6 separate regions of the Homo sapiens genome follow, and regions 1, 2, 3, 5 and 6 are each linked to region 4. Evidence: promoter capture Hi-C in 16 types of primary human blood cells and fetal thymus (Javierre and others, 2016). All regions are on one chromosome and are shown on one strand. Each heading gives the region's core, a stretch centred on a gene start or on the middle of the fragment in contact. The rest is flanking DNA. Distances are from core to core; before and after follow the strand shown. Region 1 overlaps PLEKHG2 (pleckstrin homology and RhoGEF domain containing G2). Region 2 overlaps MED29 (mediator complex subunit 29). Region 3 overlaps DLL3 (delta like canonical Notch ligand 3). Region 4 holds the start of PAK4 (p21 (RAC1) activated kinase 4). Region 5 holds the start of EIF3K (eukaryotic translation initiation factor 3 subunit K). Region 6 holds the start of EID2B (EP300 interacting inhibitor of differentiation 2B).

Region 1 (3,412 bases), core at 601-3,100, 300 kb after region 4:
AGCTGGGCTGGACGTGGTGGTTCACGCCTGTAATCCCAGCACTTCGGGAGGCCAAGGCGGGTGGATCACCTGAGGTTAGGAGTTCAAGACCAGCCTGGTCAACATGGTGAAACCCCGTCTCTACTAAAAACACAAAAATTACCGGGTGTGGTAGCGGGCACCTGTAATCCCAGCAACTCAAGAGGCTGAGGCAGGAGAATCGCTTGAACCCAGGAGGCAGAGGGTGCAGTGAGCCGAAATCGCGCCTTTGCACTCCAACCTCGGCAACAAGAGCAAAATCTCCGTCTCAAAAAAAAAAAAAAATTAGCTGGATGTGATGGTGCACATATGAAATCCCAGCTACTCAGGAGGGTGAGGTGGGAAGATCGCTTGATCCCAGAAGTAGAGGCTGGAGTGAGCTATGATTGCACCACTGTACTCCAACCTGGCGTATAGAGCAAGATCTAAAAACAAAAACAGCACCCATTAATGGGCATGACTACGGTGCTTAAAGTATCCTCTCTGTGGTACTCCAAGATCGACCCACCTCAGCCCTCATCCTCCTGTCTTTCAGGCAAAGCAAGTTCTCCTTGAAAACAGCCTGCATTGTGAGTTGGGGCCTTGGGCTGGGAGGGTGTGGAAGTAGACGAATTACTTCCAAGAAAAAGTTGGCTTTTAGCCCCAAAACTCTCCCCACAGGTGCCCCCAAAAGTAAGCCTGTCCTAGAGCCCCTGACACCCCCACTTGGGTCTCCTCGACCTCGAGATGCTAGAAGTTTTACCCCTGGGCGAAGGAACACAGGTAAAGGCGGTGGATCCCTGAGTCCCAGCCCTCAGCCCCACTTCCCTAGGACCCGGGAGCTGGGCTCACACAGGGCTCTGGCCCTCCCTCCCACAGCTCCATCTCCTGGGCCCTCTGTGATTCGCCGAGGCCGCAGGCAGTCTGGTGAGCACTCACCCCTAAGGGTGATCCAGGCATCGGGGTGGGAGCTGGGCTCCTGACATCACTGTGTCCTCCCCGCAGAGCCGGTGAAGGACCCTTATGTCATGTTCCCACAGAACGGTCAGTGACTGCCCCGGTTCAGCCTGGTCCATCCCTGTCTGTCGCCCGGTGGGATGTCTGGGGCGGGTTGGGGAGGGGTGGTTGCTTCAGCTCATCAGTTATGGGGGAATCACTCTTTTTCCCTTACATCTCACTAATGCTTCTCTCTCTCTCATCTCTCCATCCTTAGCTAAGCCTGGATTCAAGGTAAGAGATATCTCGAGATAGGGTCTGGGCACCTTGACTTCTGGGTCTGATGGAGAAGGGAGCTTGAGTTCCAAAATCCTGGGTCTGAATGAGAAGGGGATTGGGGCCAGACAGAGTAACTCATGCCTGTAATCTCAGTATTTTGGGAGGTCAAGGCAGGAGGATTGCTCGAGCCCAGGAGTTTGAGACCAGTCTGGGCAACATGGCAAAACCCCATCTCTACAAAAAGTACAAAAAAATTAGCCAGGCACACTAGTGCATGCCCATAGTCCCAGCTACTCAGGAGACTGAGGTGGGAGGATTGCTTGAGCCTGGGAGGCAGAGGTTGCAAAATGAGCTGGGACACACCACTGCACTCCAGCATGGGTCACAGTGAGACCCTGTCTCAAATAAATAAATAAAAATTTTAAGAGAAAAATAAAAAAATTTAAAAATTGAGCCAGGTACGGTGGCTCACCTGTAATCCCAGCACTTTGGGAGGCCGAGGTAGGTGGATCATCTGAGATCAGGAATTTGAGACCAGGCTGGCCAACAAGGAGAAACCCCGACTCTACTAAAAATACAAAAATTAGCTGGACATTGTGGCAGGCGCCTGTAATCCCAGCTACTCAGGAGGCTGAGGCAGCAGAATCGCTTGAACCCGGGAGGCGGAGATTGCAGTGAGCAGAGATGGCGCCATTGCACTGCAGGCTGGGCGACAGAGCGAGACTCCATCTCAAAACAAACAAACGCAAAAGAAGGGGATTGGGACTTGGGGTCCTCTATGTGAGGGAGGAGTCTTGGCTCTTGCCTTCCATTGCTTTCCCTCCTCACAGCACGCTGGCAGCGAAGGGGAACTCTACCCTCCAGAATCTCAGCCACCAGTTTCAGGCTCTGCACCCCCTGAGGACCTGGAGGATGCTGGACCCCCAACACTGGACCCCTCTGGGACCTCAATCACTGAAGAAATCCTGGAACTGCTGAATCAGCGAGGCCTTCGAGATCCAGGGGTGAGCTGGCTGTCCCATCATGGTGTCCTTGGGCCTCTGGGTGTGGGCACACAGACCAGGGACCAGATAGGCCAGCCCATGCTGATACCTTTATTTTTTTTTTATTTGAGATGGAGTCTTGCTCTGTTGCCGAGGCTGGAGTGCAGTGGCGCCATCTCGGCTCACTGCAAGCTCTGCCTCCCAGGTTCAAGCGATTCTCCTGCCTCAGCCTCCTGAGTAGCTGGGACTACAGGCACCCGCCAACACACCCGGCTAATTTTTTTTTTTTTTTTGTATTTTTAGTAGAGACAGGGTTTCACTATGTTGGCCAGGCTGGTCTCGAACTCGTAACCTCAAGTGACCCGCCCACTTCAGCCTCCCAAAGTGCTGGGATTACAGGCGTGAGCCACCACACCCAGCTACCATGCTGATATGTTTGGCTTGTTCTCCTGTGCCCACTATAGCCGTCCACCCATGACATTCCCAAGTTCCCCGGAGACTCCCAGGTGCCTGGCGACAGCGAAACCCTCACATTCCAAGCCCTGCCCAGCCGGGACTCTTCAGAAGAGGAGGAGGAGGAAGAGGAAGGGCTGGAGATGGATGAACGGGGGCCTTCCCCACTCCACGTCCTGGAAGGGCTCGAAAGTTCCATTGCAGCTGAAATGCCCAGCATTCCCTGCCTTACCAAAATTCCTGACGTGCCCAACCTTCCTGAAATTCCCAGCCGCTGTGAAATTCCCGAAGGTTCTCGCCTTCCTAGTCTCTCTGACATTTCCGATGTTTTTGAGATGCCCTGCCTTCCAGCCATACCTAGTGTCCCCAACACCCCCAGTCTGTCTAGCACTCCCACCCTCTCCTGTGACTCCTGGCTCCAAGGGCCTCTGCAGGAACCAGCTGAGGCTCCAGCCACCAGGAGAGAACTGTTTTCTGGGAGCAATCCTGGGAAACTGGGAGAGCCGCCTTCAGGAGGCAAGGCAGGGCCAGAGGAGGATGAAGAAGGGGTATCATTCACAGACTTCCAGCCCCAGGATGTCACCCAACATCAGGGATTCCCAGATGAGCTGGCATTCCGCTCTTGCTCAGAAATCCGGAGCGCCTGGCAGGCATTGGAACAGGGACAGCTGGCCCGGCCAGGCTTCCCAGAGCCACTGCTGATCCTGGAGGATTCGGATCTGGGTGGAGACAGCGGGAGCGGGAAGGCAGGAGCCCCGAGTTCA
Region 2 (3,135 bases), core at 555-3,054, 270 kb after region 4:
GGGATTACAGACCGCTGTGCCGGGCCTGGCCTGGGTTTTGAAGGAAAAGTGGGAGGTTGAGAAGCTTGGTAGTGTCAGAACCATGTTCCAAACAGAGGGAATAACATTTGCTTTAAATTTGTTTTAGGAACATCAAGTAATTCATTCTGGCTGAGGTGTGGTAGGCATAGGGCTTGTTGGATTTTGAATATAATCCTAAGGGCACTGGGGAAGCATGGAGGGTTTCAAGCAGGGAAGAATATGGACCTATCTGCTTTTTAGGAATATACCTCTGGCTGACAAATGAGGGGAGGTTGAACCCTGGAGGCAGGAGCCCAAGGGCGCAGCCATGGCAGGATCCAAGGACGCCTGGACTGGGCTCCACCAGGGCGGGGTCGTGAGGAAATGGGGAAGACTGGGGGAACTTGAGAGGCTTCGTGTGCAGGGCTTTGTATATGGGCCACAGGACCGGTGTGCTGGAAGGAGATAAAGTTTCTAGGATGAGGCCCAGGACTCTGGTTTATAATGGAGGACTGTCACTGGGCCCGGTGATTCATGCCTGTAATCCCAGCACTTTGGGAGGCCGAGGCAGGCGGATCACAAGGTCAGGAGATCGAGACCATCCTGGCTAACACGATGAAACCCCGTCTCTACTAAAAATACAAAAATTAGCCGGGCGTGGTGGCAGGCGCCTGCAGTCCCAGCTACTAGGGAGGCTGAGGCAGGAGAATGGCATGAACCCGGGAGGCAGAGCTTGCAGTGAGCCGAGATCGCACCACTGCACTCCAGCCTGGGTGACAGAGCGAGACTCCGTCTCAAAAAAAAAAAAGGAGGACTGTCCCCGAAACAGGGACCTAGGAGAAGCAGTTTTGGGGAGTACAAGGGCCCTACAAATGTCAGGGGGAGGCCAGCGACAGTGTGGGCGCCATTAGTGCAGAGGTGGAAACTGAGTGGTGTGCGTGGGTGTGACAGCCCTGGGAGGGCTTGAACAGTGAGAGAAGACAGGGCCTAGGAATGGCTGCACTTACGTCTTAGGTAGTGTAAGAAGTACCTAGAGCTGGTCAGGCGCGGTGGCTTGTGCCTGTAACTCCAGCATTTTGGGAGCCTGAGGCGGGCAGATCACAAGGTCAGGAGTTCAAGACCAGCCTGGCCAACATGGCAAAACCCTGTCTCTACTAAAAATACAAAAATTAGCCAGGCATGGTGGCGTGCACCTGAAATCCCAGCTACTTGGATGAGACAAGAGAATCTCTTGAACCCGGGAGGTGGAGGTTGCAGTGAACCAAGATGGCGCCACTGCACTCCAGCCTGGGTAACAGAGCGAGACTGTCTCCAAAAAAAAAGGGGCCGGGCACAAGTGGCTCATGCCTGTAATCCCAACACTTTGGGATGCCAAGGCGGGTAGATCACGAGGTTAGGAGTTCGAGACCAGCCTGGCCAATATGGTGAAATCCCGTCTCTACTAAAAATACAAAAATTAGCCAGGCTTGGTGGCATGCACCTGAAGTGCCAGCTCCTCTGGAGGCTGAGGCAGAAGAATCACTTGAACCCAGGAGGCAGAGGTTGCAGTGAGCCAAGATCGTGCTACTGCACTCCAGCCTGGGCAACAGAGCGAGATTCCACCTCAAAAGAAAAAAAAAAAAGCCTGGGCGCGGTGGCTCATGCCTGTAATTCCAGCACTTTGGGAGGCTGAGGCGGGTCGGTCACCTGAGGTCATGAGTTTGAGACCAGCATGGCCAATGTGGTGAAACCTTGTCTCTACTAAAAATAAAAAAAAAATTAGCCGGGTGTGGTGGCGGGTGCCTGTAATCCCAGCTACTCGGGAGGCTGAGGCAGGAGAATCACTTGAACCTGGGAGGCGGAGGTTGCAGTGAGCTGAGATCGTGCCATTGCACTCCAGCCTGGGCAACAAAACCGAAACTCCATCTCAAAAAAAAAAAAGAAAGTAGTACCTAGAGCAGCCAGAGAAGCAGGCAGAAAACCAGGGGTGAGATGCCACTGCCAACACCAGGCCTGGAGCCAGGGCAGTAACAATGATAGTAGCTAACAGTTCTTGGCACTTTAAACAGTGTGCCAGGACCCGTGCCTGTGTCTCATACACCTGCTCTCACTGTTCTCACCTTATGAGGTAGGAAGAGGTGGTTATTAAACCCGTTTTCCAAAGGAGGAAACTGAGGCTCAGAGAAGAGTAGCCGCCATGCCCCCAGGTTCCCCAGCAAATGACTGGCAGGGCCAACCTCTGACTCTAAGACCTGGGAAATCCAGAGGCCAAGCCGACAACCCCCAGCTGGCCCTTGGGGTGGGGTAGAATGACCTCGGGTGGAGCTGATGCTGTCCCCTTGCCTGCCTGTCCACAGCGCCTGGCGCATGAGTGCCTGTCACAGAGTTGTGACAGTGCCAAGCACTCTCCAACGTTGGTGCCCACAGCCACCAAGCCCGACGCAGTGCAGCCTGACAGCCTCCCCTACCCACAGTACCTGGCGGTCATCAAAGCCCAGATTTCCTGTGCCAAGGACATTCACACCGCCCTGCTGGACTGTGCCAACAAGGTCACGGGCAAGACACCCGCACCACCTGCTGGCCCTGGGGGCACTCTGTGAAGTGGGGGACAGGGAGTGGGGCAGGCAGTGGTTGGTGGGTGGTGTGCAAAGGGAATGAAGAGCGTCCTGGGCCTAAACACAGCAGCCTCCTCTCTTCCTGCCTGAGCACCGCAGCGGGAGCCAGCAGGGGGCAGCAGAGGCCAACAGGGAGCTCGCAGGCCGGGCCCCTGCGTCCCTGCCCCTTCTTCCTGCTCCCCCTCCTAGCCTAGGGTAGACTTTGAACTGTGTGTGTTGATGACTTCTCTGTTCCACAGGCCCTCCCCCATTCTTGCCTGGGTGTGGAGCCCTGGCTGTCCCCTCTCCCTCAGTCCTTCCTGACTGTCTCCAGCTGGGAGGTGGTCTCTGTGTGCCACTCCTCTGTGTCTCTATTACAGTTGTGTCTCTCTCATCCTGTCTCTTTTTCCCTTGTTTCTCTGTTCCTGTTAATGTGTTTCTCCCCATGGTCCTATTTCTCTCACTCTGACCTCTCTCTCTTAGTCCCCTTTAGCTGTCTTCTATCCCCAGCTCCTAACTGGGACTCTGTGTCTATGCAGGGGGCCAGCACCCCTGGGTTATC
Region 3 (3,236 bases), core at 369-2,868, 380 kb after region 4:
GGGCAGATCACCTGAGCTCAGGAGTTGGAGACCAGCCCGGGCCACATGGTGAAACCCCGTCTCTACTAAAAATACAAAAAATTAGCCGGGCGTGATGGCAGGTGCTTGTAATCCCAGCTACTCGGGAGGCTAAGGCGGAAGAATCACTTGAACCCGGGAGGCGGAGGTTGCAGTGAGCCGAGATCATGCCACTGCGCTCCCGCCTGGGCGACAGAGTGACACTCTGTCTCAAAAAAAAAAAAAAAAAAAAAAAAAAAAAAGATTAAGTAAGATCATGAATGTAGGCTGAAGCAGAGAATTGCTTGAACTCGGGAGGCGGAGGTTGCAGTGAGCCGAGATCGCGCCACTGCACTCCAGCCTGGACGACAGAGCGAGACTCCGTTTCGAAAAAAAAAAAAAAAAAGATCATGAATGTAAAGGGCTGGCTGTGTATCTTCTTGCGAGTGAATACAATAATTCTCTCCCAAACACTGAGTGTTCATTCTGGGGTGTGTGGTACTAGGGACTCAGCACCGACCAGGACATCTCTGGGCCGCACCCTCCTGGGGGAACCAGCCCAGAGGGGAAGACAGACACCCTCAGACAGAGCCCAGGGTGGGTGGTCAGGGCTGTGATGTAGGAGCACAGGGCAGTGATCAGGGCTGGGATGGAGGAAGGAGCATCGGAGTAGAAACCTGAGGGGTGGGCTAGGGAAGAGAAAAGGTGGGAAAAAATGTGAGAAAAGGAGGAAGGGAAGAGAGGAGGGGTATTCTAGGCAGAGGAAGGCCAGAGGGTTCAAACACGTAGTTCTGGGAGCTGTCTACTATTGAAGTATGATCGAAGCCGAAGGAAAAAGAGACAAGGGCACCGAGAGCCAAAGAGGTGGAGCTGAATTAATTATTCCAAAACTTCATTAGGAAGAAAAGCGAGCTGGCTTTCCTGGCACACTCCAAGACGCTGGCCCTTAAGTTAGAGAGAAAAAGGGGACCCCGTGCAGCGATGACAGAGCTGGGAAACAGCGCGGGCAGGTGGGTCCCCGGCTCCCGGACTGCGCCCTCTGATGCTCCCTTCCCCACAGGCGGACTCTGCCTGGACCTGGGCCACGCCCTGCGCTGCCGCTGCCGCGCCGGCTTCGCGGGTCCTCGCTGCGAGCACGACCTGGACGACTGCGCGGGCCGCGCCTGCGCTAACGGCGGCACGTGTGTGGAGGGCGGCGGCGCGCACCGCTGCTCCTGCGCGCTGGGCTTCGGCGGCCGCGACTGCCGCGAGCGCGCGGACCCGTGCGCCGCGCGCCCCTGTGCTCACGGCGGCCGCTGCTACGCCCACTTCTCCGGCCTCGTCTGCGCTTGCGCTCCCGGCTACATGGGAGCGCGGTGTGAGTTCCCAGTGCACCCCGACGGCGCAAGCGCCTTGCCCGCGGCCCCGCCGGGCCTCAGGCCCGGGGACCCTCAGCGCTACCTTTTGCCTCCGGCTCTGGGACTGCTCGTGGCCGCGGGCGTGGCCGGCGCTGCGCTCTTGCTGGTCCACGTGCGCCGCCGTGGCCACTCCCAGGATGCTGGGTCTCGCTTGCTGGCTGGGACCCCGGAGCCGTCAGTCCACGCACTCCCGGATGCACTCAACAACCTAAGGACGCAGGAGGGTTCCGGGGATGGTCCGAGGTGAGGGGCTGCGCCACAGACGAACGCCTTGCGCTGCTGGCTGCTTTTACCCATCTCCGTGGTGCAGTTGGCCCGATTCCTTGATGCATTTCCCTGGTCGGTCTCTCTTACCCCGGTAGCTGGTTTTGGGTTCCCCTTTGTGATGGGTAGGGGAAAACAAGATCTGAGAATTTAAAGAGTCTGAGTTTTTCTTCTTTCTCTCCTCCCACAGCTCGTCCGTAGATTGGAATCGCCCTGAAGATGTAGACCCTCAAGGGATTTATGTCATATCTGCTCCTTCCATCTACGCTCGGGAGGTAGCGACGCCCCTTTTCCCCCCGCTACACACTGGGCGCGCTGGGCAGAGGCAGCACCTGCTTTTTCCCTACCCTTCCTCGATTCTGTCCGTGAAATGAATTGGGTAGAGTCTCTGGAAGGTTTTAAGCCCATTTTCAGTTCTAACTTACTTTCATCCTATTTTGCATCCCTCTTATCGTTTTGAGCTACCTGCCATCTTCTCTTTGAAAAACCTATGGGCTTGAGGAGGTCACGATGCCGACTCCGCCAGAGCTTTTCCACTGATTGTACTCAGCGGGGAGGCAGGGGAGGCAGAGGGGCAGCCTCTCTAATGCTTCCTACTCATTTTGTTTCTAGGCCTGACGCGTCTCCTCCATCCGCACCTGGAGTCAGAGCGTGGATTTTTGTATTTGCTCGGTGGTGCCCAGTCTCTGCCCCAGAGGCTTTGGAGTTCAATCTTGAAGGGGTGTCTGGGGGAACTTTACTGTTGCAAGTTGTAAATAATGGTTATTTATATCCTATTTTTTCTCACCCCATCTCTCTAGAAACACCTATAAAGGCTATTATTGTGATCAGTTTTGACTAACGAGGCTGAATGCTTTGTATTTGATGTTGGGGCTGAGGGGAAGAGATTTTGTCTCCTGAGGAGAATAGTAGACAGGACTCTTTATGTTGTAGGGGTCGGAAACGACTCAAACTGCTTTAAATATAAAAGAATTTATGGCTGGGTGCAGTGGCTCACGGCTGTAATCCCACTGAACCACTGAGTGAGATCAGTGCTGAAGCAGGAGGATTGCTTGAGGCTGGGAGTTGGAGAGCAGCTGGGCAACACAGCGAGACCCCTATACGAAAAATTAAAACAAAATTAGCCAGGCCTGGTGGCGCACCTGTAGTTCTACATACTTGTGAGGCTGAGGCCGGGAGGATCGCCTCAGCTCAGGAGTTTGAGGCTGCAGTGAGCTATGATCACACCACTGCACTAAAGCCTGGGCAATACAGCAAGATCCTGTCTCTTTAAAAAAAAATGTATTAGTGGCCGGGCGTGGTGGCTCACCCCTGTAATCCCAGCACTTTGGGAGGCTGAGGTGGGTGGATCACCTGAGGTCGGGAGTTGGAGACTAGCCTGGCCAGCATGGCAGAACCTCATCTCTACTAAAAAATACAAAAATTAGCTGGGTGCAGCGGCAGGCACCTGTAATCTCAGCTACTCAGGAGGCTGAGAACTGCTTGAACTCGGGAAGTGGAGGTTGCAGTGAGCCGAGATTGTGCCATTGCATTCTAGCCTTGGAGACAGAACAAGACTCTGTCTCAAAAAAAACAAAA
Region 4 (3,464 bases), core at 407-2,906:
AAGAAAAATTAACTCATCATTCAATCATTCATTCATTGTTGCCACCGACATTAGTAGAAATTAATTAAATGCCTACTATGTGGCTGTTCTGGGGCAGAGGAGAAGCACCAAACATTTAAGAGTATCTCTGAAGGGGTGGAATTACCACGCATTCAAACAGCCCTTCCACCAATGTTTACTGAGCATCTACATGCCAACAGTGCTGGGGCACTGGGAATGCAGCAGTGAACAAAGACAGAAATCCATGTTGTCATGGGGCTGACATTCCAGCAGAGGAGACAACCAACAAGCAATAACTACAATTAGGAGTGAGAAATAAGAACAAAGCAGACAGAGTTTGGTAGTATGTGAGAGGGATGTTTGCTGCTTTCCTTAGGGTGAGCGAGGGAATTAGTTCACAGAGAAAGTGACATCTGTGTAAAGCCCTGAAAAAAGGGAGGGAGAGATAAGGATACCTGGGGGAAGAGTATGTTCCAGGCAGAGGAACAACCAGTGCAAAGACTGTGAGGTGAGAGCGCACCTGACAAGAGTTCAGGAACAGCATGAAGGCTGGAGTCCAGTGAATAAGATCCAGGAGGAGAGATGTCTGGCCGGGCGCAGTGGCTCACGCCTGCAATCCCAGCACTTTGGGAGGCCGAGGCAGGAGTATAGTTTGAGCCCAGGAGTTCGAGACCAGCCTGGCCAACACAACAAAACTCTCTCTTTAAAAATAAAAGAAAAAGGCCAGCTTGGTGGCTCACACGTGTAATCCCAGCACTCTGGGAGGCCGAGGCGGATAGATCACCTGAGGTCAGGAGTTCGACCTGGCCAACATGGTGAAACGCTGTCTCTACTAAAAATACAAAAAATTAGCTGGGTGTGGTGGTGGACGCCTGTAATTCCAGCTACTCAGGAGGCTGAGGCAGGAGAATCTCTTGAACCCGGGAGGCGGAGGTTGCAGTGAGCTGAGATCGCGCCATTGCACTCCAGCCTGGGCAACAAGAGCGAAACTCTATCTCAAGACAAATAAATAAGTAAAAATAAAATTTAAAAAAATTTTTAAAGAAGATGTCTGCTGTTTGTTTTCAATATTTTGACCAATTACTTCGTAAAAACTTATTTAAAAATTGAAGAGCAAACAGTCTCAGGTTCCCGGGCTCAGACAGACCAGCGTTCAAAACTCATTACCTTCTTTCTATGATGCTAAGCCAGCTATTTCACCCTCTGAACCTCTGTTTCTTTATCTGTAAAATGGGTATTAATGATATTATACCACAGGGTTGTATATGCAGCGAGAAAATGCAAGTAAAACACTTATCCCGGTGCCTGCCTCCTAGTAAGTGCTTAAGAACTGTTTCTGCCCATTAACTCATTACTTTCTCCCAGCCCCTAACTCCTTCTGGGGGGGAAGTTAGAAAATCGGTATCACACGAAAACAGTCATTTCCCCTTTAAGGACCTCAGTGGGCCGGGAGCCAGCCTTCCCGCACCTTTTCCAAAATTTCCAATCCCCGCTTGGCATTTTCTGCCCGAAGGTCTCCGATTGGACGCTCTGTACCAATCGGAGGCTGGAGCGGGCCCTGAGAGGCGCCCGACTCCGCCCCCGCACTGGCCCTGCCCACTGCCCGGTCAGCCTCGTTGCTATGGGGACTGGTGGGCGGTGAGGGGGGAAAGCCCCGGATGTTCGTTGGGGATTCAACATGGCGGCGGGAGTGTCCGCGGTGGTGGCGGTGCAAGAGAGCTGAGGGAGGCGCGAGGGCGCGGAGTTCCAGGTCGAGCAGTTAGGCCGCGAGCGACTGCGGCGCCGAGCCGGTAGGATAAGGGGTCCGGCCAGGGGCTTGCGGTGGGCCGGGCGCTGGCGGCGGGACGGCGTTTCCGCGAGGAGGGGGGCGGGGCCGCCGGGGTCAAAGGTCACTGGTGGAGGGAAGGGTCGCGTCCGAGGGGTCGGGGGTTAACGCAGACTGGAGGGAGTTGTAGTGGAGGTCGGAGATCAAACCAGCGAAGGGGGCGTGGCGAAGGGGAGTGCAAAGTTTGAAATTCGAAGTGGGGGCGCGTTCGAGGGGTTCTGGGCGAGTCTCAAAAAAGGCAGGGTCAAAGTTAATAATTTGAGGGAAGGCTGCCCCCACGAGGGTCAGAGGTCACAGCCCCAGGGGCGCCAGGTTGGAGGTTTAAAGCTGCCCCTAGCGGAGCAGATGAATGAGTTTTAGGTTCGGGGGCGTCTTTTAGGGGTTCAAAGCTGGGGCGTGCCTAGAAGGTACAAAGGTGAGAATCTGACAGCGGGGCAGCTGTTTCCCAGAGTCAAAAATTAAAACCCAAGGAGGGCGTATTGCGGGGGACGGGGGGGGGGGGGGGGGCCGGGTCAGAGATGCTTCCTGGTGACAGGAGAAGGGGGAACCCTCCCACAAATAATAATGGCAAACACTCATGAAACACTATGGGCTAGACCCTCTTTTTAACGCTTTACTTGTATGAGCTTATTCAGTCCTCACTATAGTCTTAGGGGGTCTTAACCTGGTATTAAGAGGTTAAGTGATTTGCACAAGGTCACCCGATGCATAAGTTGTGCGCTGGGATTCTAACTCCGGAGTTCTGGCCCAGAGCCCTGCTCTGGCCGACCGCCTCTCAAATCATCATAATGTCGGTTAATGTTTAATGAGGGCTCACACTGTGCTCCACGCCCTGTGTGCCCGGTCGTATTTCACTCCTGCTGCAATCTTGTGAAGTGAGTGCTCAAGATGAACCTACTTTACAGACGGGAAAAATGAGGCTCAGAAGCTTCTGCTGAAGGCAGAGTTAGAATCGAAGCTGGGCCTGGGTGATTCCAGGGCTCCTGCCCCTGGTCGCCACATTGTCCGCTGCCAGCCATTAGGTCTCTCCTGGAAGCAGGGGGCTGGGCAGGGCTGGGCCACTCCCTGGGCGGATCGGATTGTCTGCTTGGTTTCCTTGGAAGGGTGTGATCTGGCAGGGAAGATTCCTGTGAGCCTATGGGAGTAGGGTGTTTGTAGGTGGTCTGGAGTCCGAGCAAGGGAGTCCGACGGGCTTCTGACTGGGGAGAGTGTCCCTGGGTGGTACCCTGGGCAGAGCGGGGTGTTCACTGTTCTTAAAACCCTAAGCTCTCACTGTGGTCCTTAGTCACTCCCACCTCACTTCTTATGGCTCTGCCCATTTCTCCCCAGCCCCTTTACTGTTCTCCAACTCCAGGCCCATGCCTCCCGCCCGGTCTTTGACCTTCCTGTTCCTTCTGCTGGGAATCCTTTCCCCACCCTGCCCTCTCTCACTGACGGGTCGCTCACTCTCAGCTGGCCCGGGACCACCCTGGCTCGCCTTGCTGCAGGCTCTTTTTCTCTCATCTGACCAGCCCTTACCTCCCTCCTTACCTTAATTATTAGGGTGCATGGTGGAATTGCTCTGTGGGGTTCCTTGCCTCGGTCCCCACTGAAGCCCTGCCTGGCCTGCAGAGGATGTGACATTGCTGGGGGTTGACTG
Region 5 (3,207 bases), core at 1-2,500, 510 kb before region 4:
GCCTCAGGGCTCAACTTCTGGCACCTCCCTCCGTCCCCAGAAGCCCTGCACCCGCCTTGCCTCCGCGGGCTGTGGCCTCCCCCCTCCTCACTCTCGCTTCCTGCCCCAGCTGCACTGCACGACTGTGCAACGGGCTCCACCCCCCCGTCCCCTGGGCTCTGAGAGCCTCTGAGGGGCAGCTTGTCTTGGGACCCAAGGGACCACCCTCAACCTCCAAGGCCCAGGGCTGGATGTAAATGTGATGCAAATGATCTTAATCGTAACTGGGTTGGAGGGGGGTGCCTTAGAACCCCCGCCCCCGTCTCCTAGGTAGTGTCTAAACCTCTGCTGGGTGCTTGAAGGTTTGGCCACAACCCGAAGGCGGCAGGTCTGCAAAGGGATGGCTATGCAGTGTACATGCCTGTTCACCTGTCACATACATGCACTTGGGTTACCTCCTCTGCACTGCGCAGGCGTGTAGACGTGCATCTGCCTGGATACCTGTGTGCACAGTACACACGTGGATGTACCCAGGACATATACCTCCACATGCATGGCACATAACTGCATTTTGTAGGCCTGCAGTGTACAAAACCTATACATAATATATAATTCATGGCAGTACAAATGGGACGCTCGCCCTCAGCTCCAAGACCGGAACCTAATGGAGACGGGGCGCGATCCGGCGAAGTCCAGGAGCCCTCACCCCAGCCCCTGCCCGGCAGAGCACAGTAGCTTTGTGGGACCCTCCTCCTGGAGCTGGGGACCAAGGGCTGAGACTTGAAACTGGAGAGCTCAGGATCCTGCACCAGGCGCCCAGGCCTGTGGCAAGAGGGACCTCAGAACACCTCCCTCGGAACTTGGCCATGGCCTAAACGTAAGGCTGCTGCGTGCATTCCCGCAGAGCTCCGTGGCCTCATGGCCGCGCGCAATACAACGCGCGCGCACGCCGCCAGAGCTCCGGGTGCTTCCCGGTGAGTTCGCGCGCGCACGCTCCCGCGCTACCGGCACTGGAACTGGGTCTGTGAGGCCCGGGAAAAGCTTAGCCCCGCCCCCTCGCCACGAGAGGCGCCTGCGCACTGGGATCCAGTAAGATTTTTCTCACGCTGTCTGTCCAGCTTGAGTGGCGCGAATGCGCACGCGCCAATTGCGCCTGCGAGGAAGAAGTCACGTGGCAGCCGGAAAGCGTGGCGGCTGCTGCTAGAGCCTTTCCCTTTACCGCACCCAAGGAGCTGGAGCGACAACAACGACGTCGTTTCCGTTTCCACCACCTCTTCCTGTTCCCGTCCTTGAGGACGCCGTGCCGGGTCAGTGTTAGCCTCCAGCCCTGGTTGTGGAAGGCGACAGAAGTCATGGCGATGTTTGAGCAGATGAGAGCCAACGTGGGCAAGTTGCTCAAGGGTATCGACAGGTCTGAGCCCGGTTGGAGGAAGCGCTCTGGCCAAGCGGGGCGGAGGAGAGGGTTTTCCGGAGACAGCAAGGGGTGTTCAGGGTCCTGGGCTTGCCGCGGGGTGGGGTTTCTCTATCCTCCTGGAGGAGGAGATGCTTAAAGAAACGGCACTGAGCTGGGGGTAGTGGCTCACGCCTGTGATCCTAGCACTTTGGGAGGCCGAGGTAGGTGGGTCGCCTGAGCCCAGGAGTTAGAGACCAGCCTGGGCAACAGCCAAACCCCGTCTCTAAAAGAAAGAAACAAAAGCACTGCAAAGGCCTAGAAGCGAGAGAATCTTGGTACCACTCAGTCTCTTCGTAAATTGCCTTAAGGTTTCCTTCTCTGCTCCGCCTCCTTTGAGTGCCTCTTAATCTCTCCCTTCTCTGCTCTATAAGTCATTCATTCTCCACACGTTTACTGAAATAAACTGTCAGTGCTAGGCAATGCTGGGAACCACAGGCGAATCAGACAGCGGCAGATCATGCCTTCACGGTCTGAGTTCCCTTTCCATAAGGGAGACAAACCTGACAGCAGACAGCGATAGCCGGGAGAGATTAGAACTGAAATGGGGGAAGCAAAGGCCAGAGTGTTCAGGTGGACATGGAGGAAGTAGGCAGCGAGGTAGGCAGGAGAGGATGGGGCTGGATCAGGGTGGAGGCCTGAACAGGGGAGGAAGGGGTGAGTAGCAGAGACATTCAGGAGGCCAGGTGTACAAGCTGCAGTGACTGACTGGCTCAGAGGTTGAGGAGGCATCCTAGGGAAGAGCCAGGGCTCCAGTGGAGTTTAGAGCTTAGGCGAGAGGTCTGGGATAAGAATAAGTTTTACTAGAGATTATACTGGACATAATTCACTACCTGGATAGAGCAAGTGGCCAGTGCCAGATTTAGAGGGGAAGGGCGGGAGGAGCAGGTTACAGTGGCCCCTTGCTCCATAAGGTGGCTGGCCTCAGCTTCTGTCTCCTCTGTGCTCACCTATCTTGATTCTCCTTTAGGTACAATCCTGAGAACCTGGCCACCCTGGAGCGCTATGTAGAGACGCAGGCCAAGGAAAATGCCTATGATCTGGAAGCCAACCTGGCTGTCCTGAAGCTGTAAGTGTCTAGCTCTCTGTCTACACTCCCATTGCAGCAACTAGCAGGGTGCCACTCCCAGTACAGGGCAAGGGGGTGGCTGGTAGTATCCTGAACAATGCAGCATCTCTTGGTGTGCAAGACTAGGAAGCCAAGGAAGTTGGGACAGGAGGAGGGATGGTTTTTGAAAAATCAATTGCCGGGCGCGGTGACTCACGCCTGTTATCCCAGCACTTTGGGAGGATGAGGCAGGCGGATCACCTGAGGTAGGGAGTTTGAGACCAGCCTGGCCAACACGGAGAAACCCCATCTTTACTAAAAAATACCAAATTAGCCAGGCGTGGTGCCACATGCCTGTAATCCCAGCTACTCGGGAGGCTGAGGCAGGAGAATTGCTTGAACCCAGGAGGCGGAGATTGTGGTGAACCAAGATCGCGCCATTGCACTCCAGCCTGGGCAACAAGACCGAAACTCCGTCTCAAAAATAATAATAAAAAATCAATTAGGGTGGCCGCAGGGGCTCATGCCTGTAATCCCAGCACTTTGGGAGGCTGAGGCGAGAGACTCACTTGAGCCAAAGAGTTCGAGACCATCCATGGCAACATAGCGAGACCCAACCCTACGAAAAAATTTAAAAATTAATGTAGCGGTGTGTGGCTGTAGTTCCAGCTACTTGAGAGGCTGAGGTGGAAGGATCGCTTAAGCCTGGAAGATTAAGGTGCAGTGAGCC
Region 6 (3,344 bases), core at 730-3,229, 410 kb after region 4:
ACCCAAGATGCTGATAGAGGTATACAATATGTTACCTTGATTTTATATTTTTAAAAATTTATACCTCGTGATGCAAGTTAACTACCTTGATATTAAAAGGGAAAATGCACAATATTTAGATTGATGTTTATTTGCATATGCATTAGAAAACCTGAAAGGCGTACAGTGAAAAAGCAAAAAACAAGCAAAACCAAGAAAACAACAACAAAACTCCAAGCCACAAGCAATGGCACCTGCATGGAATAGTTCTGAGTTTGGCAAAGGACAGCAACAAGAGAGATTTCTCACAGCATCTTTTGATACTTTTTTTCTTTTTTTTGAGACGGAGTCCCACTCTGTTGACCAGGCTGGAGTGCAGTGGCGTGATCTCGGCTTACTGCAACCTCCGCCTCCCAGGTTCAAGTGATTCTCCTGCCTCAGCCTCCCGAGTAGCTGGGACTACAAGCGCGTGCCACCACACCCAGTTAATTTTTTATTTTTCGTAGAGATGGGGTTTCACCATGTTGGCCAGGGTGGTCTTGAATTCCTGACCTCAGGTGATCCACCCGCCGTGGCCTCCCAAAGTGCTGGGATTACAGGCGTAAGCCAGTGCGCCCGGCCGATACTTTTTTTTGTTGAGTCTTGTGAATAGAATACATATTCTAGAATAAAATAAAAAGCTTAAAATTAACAAAAAACAAGTTTATTCCACACCTACCCAATTTCACATAGACTTGAAAACACTGATCATATAATACGTGGTTTTTTCTATTGAATATTTACTGTTCATCTAAAGTACCTCAGAAAACACAAATATGAATCTTACACTAGGATTTGTTGACATGACCACAAATTGTGAAATTTCAAAGTCCTCTCAATAGCCTTCCAATCCTAGTAACTCAGGTACACCTGGATTCCTGACAACTCTATTTCTTTGTTTTCTTTCATCACTTAGGTTCATTTCTATGGGTTCTGTTATTGGCATTTTTTTTTTCTCATATCTTTGCAAAACCATCCTTTATGGTGAAAGTCATGAAGGATTCTTCACAAATGCAGGAAAATGCATTGCTAACAAAGTGCTAAGTCAGAAGTGTCTTGGGACCTGTTTGAAAACAAGATTCGGCCGGGCGCGGTGGCTCACGCCTGTAAAGTAATCCCAGCACTTTGGGAGGCCGAAGCGGGAGGATCGCTCGGGTCCAAGCGTTCGGGACCAGCCTAGGGATGCGAGACTCCCTTCTCTATTTAAATAATACTAAAAAAGAAGAAAGAAAACAAGATTCAACAGTCTTGTCTGTTTCCATTTCGGAGTGTGCTTCCTCCTTCAATTGCACATTGCCGTATTCCCTTCCAGTTTGCATTCCCCCTAATGACTGAGTTAACTAAACTGGCACAGCCTGCCTGTTCTTTTGATCCCAAAAGGGTCACTTGGCTATTCCTTGCCACCAATGTCATCATCACAGCCGACTCAGTCGGCCAGAGGACTGAGGGCCTCGGAGGCAGTCAGCGCTACCGTAAACGCGACAGCAGCGAAGTCCATCTGCGGGGGATCCGCGTCAAAGGCTGCTTCCCTCGCCTTGCAGCCTTCCACAAACAGCCTGCGGCGTTCCTCGAAATCCCGTAGTAATCTGACCGGAATCATGGAGCTACCATCCAGATACTCGCGGAACAACAGCTGCCGGTTAATTTCTAAGAAAGCGAGCTGCTGATGGGGGTCTGGCGCGGAGGCCAGGCCCGGGACGCTGCTGGGGATGGGCCCGGGCACAGGGCCCGGCATCCGCGCCATGGACCGCGCAGCTTCGGCCACTGGGCCTTCCCGAGCCTCCTGCACCCGAACCCCGCCGCCGACTGCCCCCCGCAGTACGTCGCTGACGCCACTCGCGGTGCCCACCTGTGGGACACTGCTATCTCCGGGGAGCTCGGACATCTCCAACAGCCCAGTCGGCTCCGCCATAGTCCCAGCGTTTCTACGGAGACTGGAATAACGGCACTGCACTGCTGTATGCGAGACCTGCGCATGCGCGAGTCTCAGTGAGCGCGTAAACGCTGTGCGTGCCAGAGTGTGCGCATGCGTAAGCACGGTGGCCAATCCTCTAGCGTTCCCTAGCGGTCCTGAGTAGCCATTACGTCTGTAGCCGCCTCTGGTCCTCTGAGCGCCTGAGGACCTGCGGACTGCGCGGTATCTTAAATTACAACCACTTCAGTATTAATGTAAAGTTCCTTATACGGTCATTTTCCAGCTCCTGTCTTTTTTTTTTTTTTTTCAGACTGGGTCTCGCCCTGTCGCCTAGGCTGGAGTGCAGTGGTGCGATCTCGGTTACTGCTGCTTTGACCTCCCAGCCTCAAGCCATCCTCCTGCCTCAGCCTCTGGAGTAACTGGAACTACAGGTGCACACAACCACACCCAGCTGATTTTTTATTTTTTGTAGAAATTGGGTCTCACTATGTTGCCCAGGCTGGTCTCGAACTCCTGGACTCAAGTGATCATCCTGCCTTGGCCTCCCAAAGTGCTGGGATTACCGGCCTGAGCCACTCGGCCTGGCCTGTAAGTAATATTTTGACACTGGAAGTTTGGGGGTTTCCCAAAACCACCTTTAGGTTTGATAATTCCCAGAGCTCATTGAAATCTGTTATATTCACAGTCATGCTTATTACAGGCAAAGGACACAGATTAGAAGAGATGTATAAGGCACAATCTGGGATGGGGAGGGTTCCAAATGTGAAGTTCCTGTGTTCCTAGGGATGTGTTACCCTTTGTCGTCCATGTGTGGCAATAAGTGTGGGGGTAGTGCTAACATAGGACTCTCACCCAGGCTTTGGTGTCCAGAGTTTTTACTGGGGTTTTACTACCTAGGCATGCTTGATTAAACCATCGTCCATTTTGTTGAAGTCAATCTCCAGCCTCCTACCTGATATCACATGGCTCCAAGCCCCAACTCTCTAATGATATGGTTAGCCTTTCTGTGTGGCTAGCTCTGATCCTGATGATAACCCAAAACGTGAAAGTCTATGTTCCATTTAAAATCAGTCAGCTGTGGCTGGGTGTAGTGGCTCATGCCTGTAATCCCAGCAAGTTGGGAGGCAAAGGTGGGAGGATCGCTTGAGCCCATGAGTTTGAGACCAGCCTGGGCAACATAGTGAGACCCCTGTCCCTACAGAAAAAAAAAATTAGGCAGGCATGGTGGCATGTGCACCTGTAGTCTCAGCTATTCAGGAGGCTGAGGTGGGAGGATGACTTGAGCTTGGTAGGTGGACTGTGCAGTGAGCTATGATTGCACCACTGCACTCCAGCCCTGTATGACAGAGCAAGACCCTGTCTCGAAAAAAAATCCTTTGAATTTAGCTGGAATCCAAATATGAGAGTTGCT

The links. The method cuts DNA at HindIII sites, captures the fragments that hold promoters and counts their contacts. A CHiCAGO score of 5 or more calls a contact.
Region 1: a contact is called between a fragment that was not itself captured here and the fragment with the promoter of PAK4 in region 4, in 1 of 17 cell types (fetal thymus). The highest score is 6.5, in fetal thymus.
Region 2: a contact is called between a fragment that was not itself captured here and the fragment with the promoter of PAK4 in region 4, in 13 of 17 cell types (total CD8 T cells, naive B cells, fetal thymus and 10 more). The highest score is 9.6, in total CD8 T cells.
Region 3: a fragment that was not itself captured here is called in contact with the fragment with the promoter of PAK4 in region 4 in 4 of 17 cell types (monocytes, naive B cells, fetal thymus and 1 more); the score reaches 6.2 in monocytes.
Region 5: the fragment with the promoter of EIF3K here is called in contact with the fragment with the promoter of PAK4 in region 4 in 3 of 17 cell types (naive CD8 T cells, naive CD4 T cells and erythroblasts); the score reaches 6.4 in naive CD8 T cells.
Region 6: a contact is called between the fragment with the promoter of EID2B here and the fragment with the promoter of PAK4 in region 4, in 12 of 17 cell types (naive B cells, total B cells, monocytes and 9 more). The highest score is 15.4, in naive B cells.

What each region holds. Positions count from the first base shown.
Region 1 is chr19:39,420,073-39,423,484 of GRCh38, forward strand. It overlaps PLEKHG2 (pleckstrin homology and RhoGEF domain containing G2), which reads left to right. Exons shown (of 19, transcript NM_022835.3): 12 at 554-587; 13 at 679-780; 14 at 877-924; 15 at 1,003-1,041; 16 at 1,211-1,227; 17 at 2,043-2,216; 18 at 2,660-3,412. Among named protein-coding and RNA genes, the nearest start is that of PLEKHG2, 9.1 kb to the left of the region's middle. The HindIII fragment of the contact is 7,366 bases long and covers 1-3,412 here.
Region 2 is chr19:39,395,121-39,398,255 of GRCh38, forward strand. MED29 (mediator complex subunit 29) reads left to right here. Exons shown (of 4, transcript NM_017592.4): 4 at 2,337-3,135. The coding sequence ends at 2,579. Among named protein-coding and RNA genes, the nearest start is that of MED29, 5.3 kb to the left of the region's middle. The HindIII fragment of the contact is 3,484 bases long and covers 63-3,135 here.
Region 3 is chr19:39,505,982-39,509,217 of GRCh38, forward strand. DLL3 (delta like canonical Notch ligand 3) reads left to right here. Exons shown (of 9, transcript NM_203486.3): 7 at 1,058-1,637; 8 at 1,849-1,933; 9 at 2,271-2,488. The coding sequence ends at 2,276. Among named protein-coding and RNA genes, the nearest start is that of SELENOV, 7.5 kb to the right of the region's middle. RefSeq lists silencers at 1,160-1,259, 1,440-1,589. The HindIII fragment of the contact is 8,029 bases long and covers 1-3,236 here.
Region 4 is chr19:39,124,130-39,127,593 of GRCh38, forward strand. PAK4 (p21 (RAC1) activated kinase 4) reads left to right here and starts at 1,657. Exons shown (of 10, transcript NM_005884.5): 1 at 1,657-1,790. The HindIII fragment of the contact is 5,933 bases long and covers 1-2,751 here.
Region 5 is chr19:38,617,938-38,621,144 of GRCh38, forward strand. It overlaps EIF3K (eukaryotic translation initiation factor 3 subunit K), which reads left to right and starts at 1,251. Exons shown (of 8, transcript NM_013234.4): 1 at 1,251-1,390; 2 at 2,400-2,498. The coding sequence starts at 1,332. It overlaps MAP4K1 (mitogen-activated protein kinase kinase kinase kinase 1), which reads right to left and starts at 16. Exons shown (of 31, transcript NM_001042600.3): 1 at 1-16. RefSeq lists an enhancer at 540-589. The HindIII fragment of the contact is 6,969 bases long and covers 1,019-3,207 here.
Region 6 is chr19:39,530,873-39,534,216 of GRCh38, forward strand. EID2B (EP300 interacting inhibitor of differentiation 2B) reads right to left here and starts at 1,980. Exons shown (of 1, transcript NM_152361.3): 1 at 115-1,980. The coding sequence starts at 1,930. The coding sequence ends at 1,445. The HindIII fragment of the contact is 7,702 bases long and covers 658-3,344 here.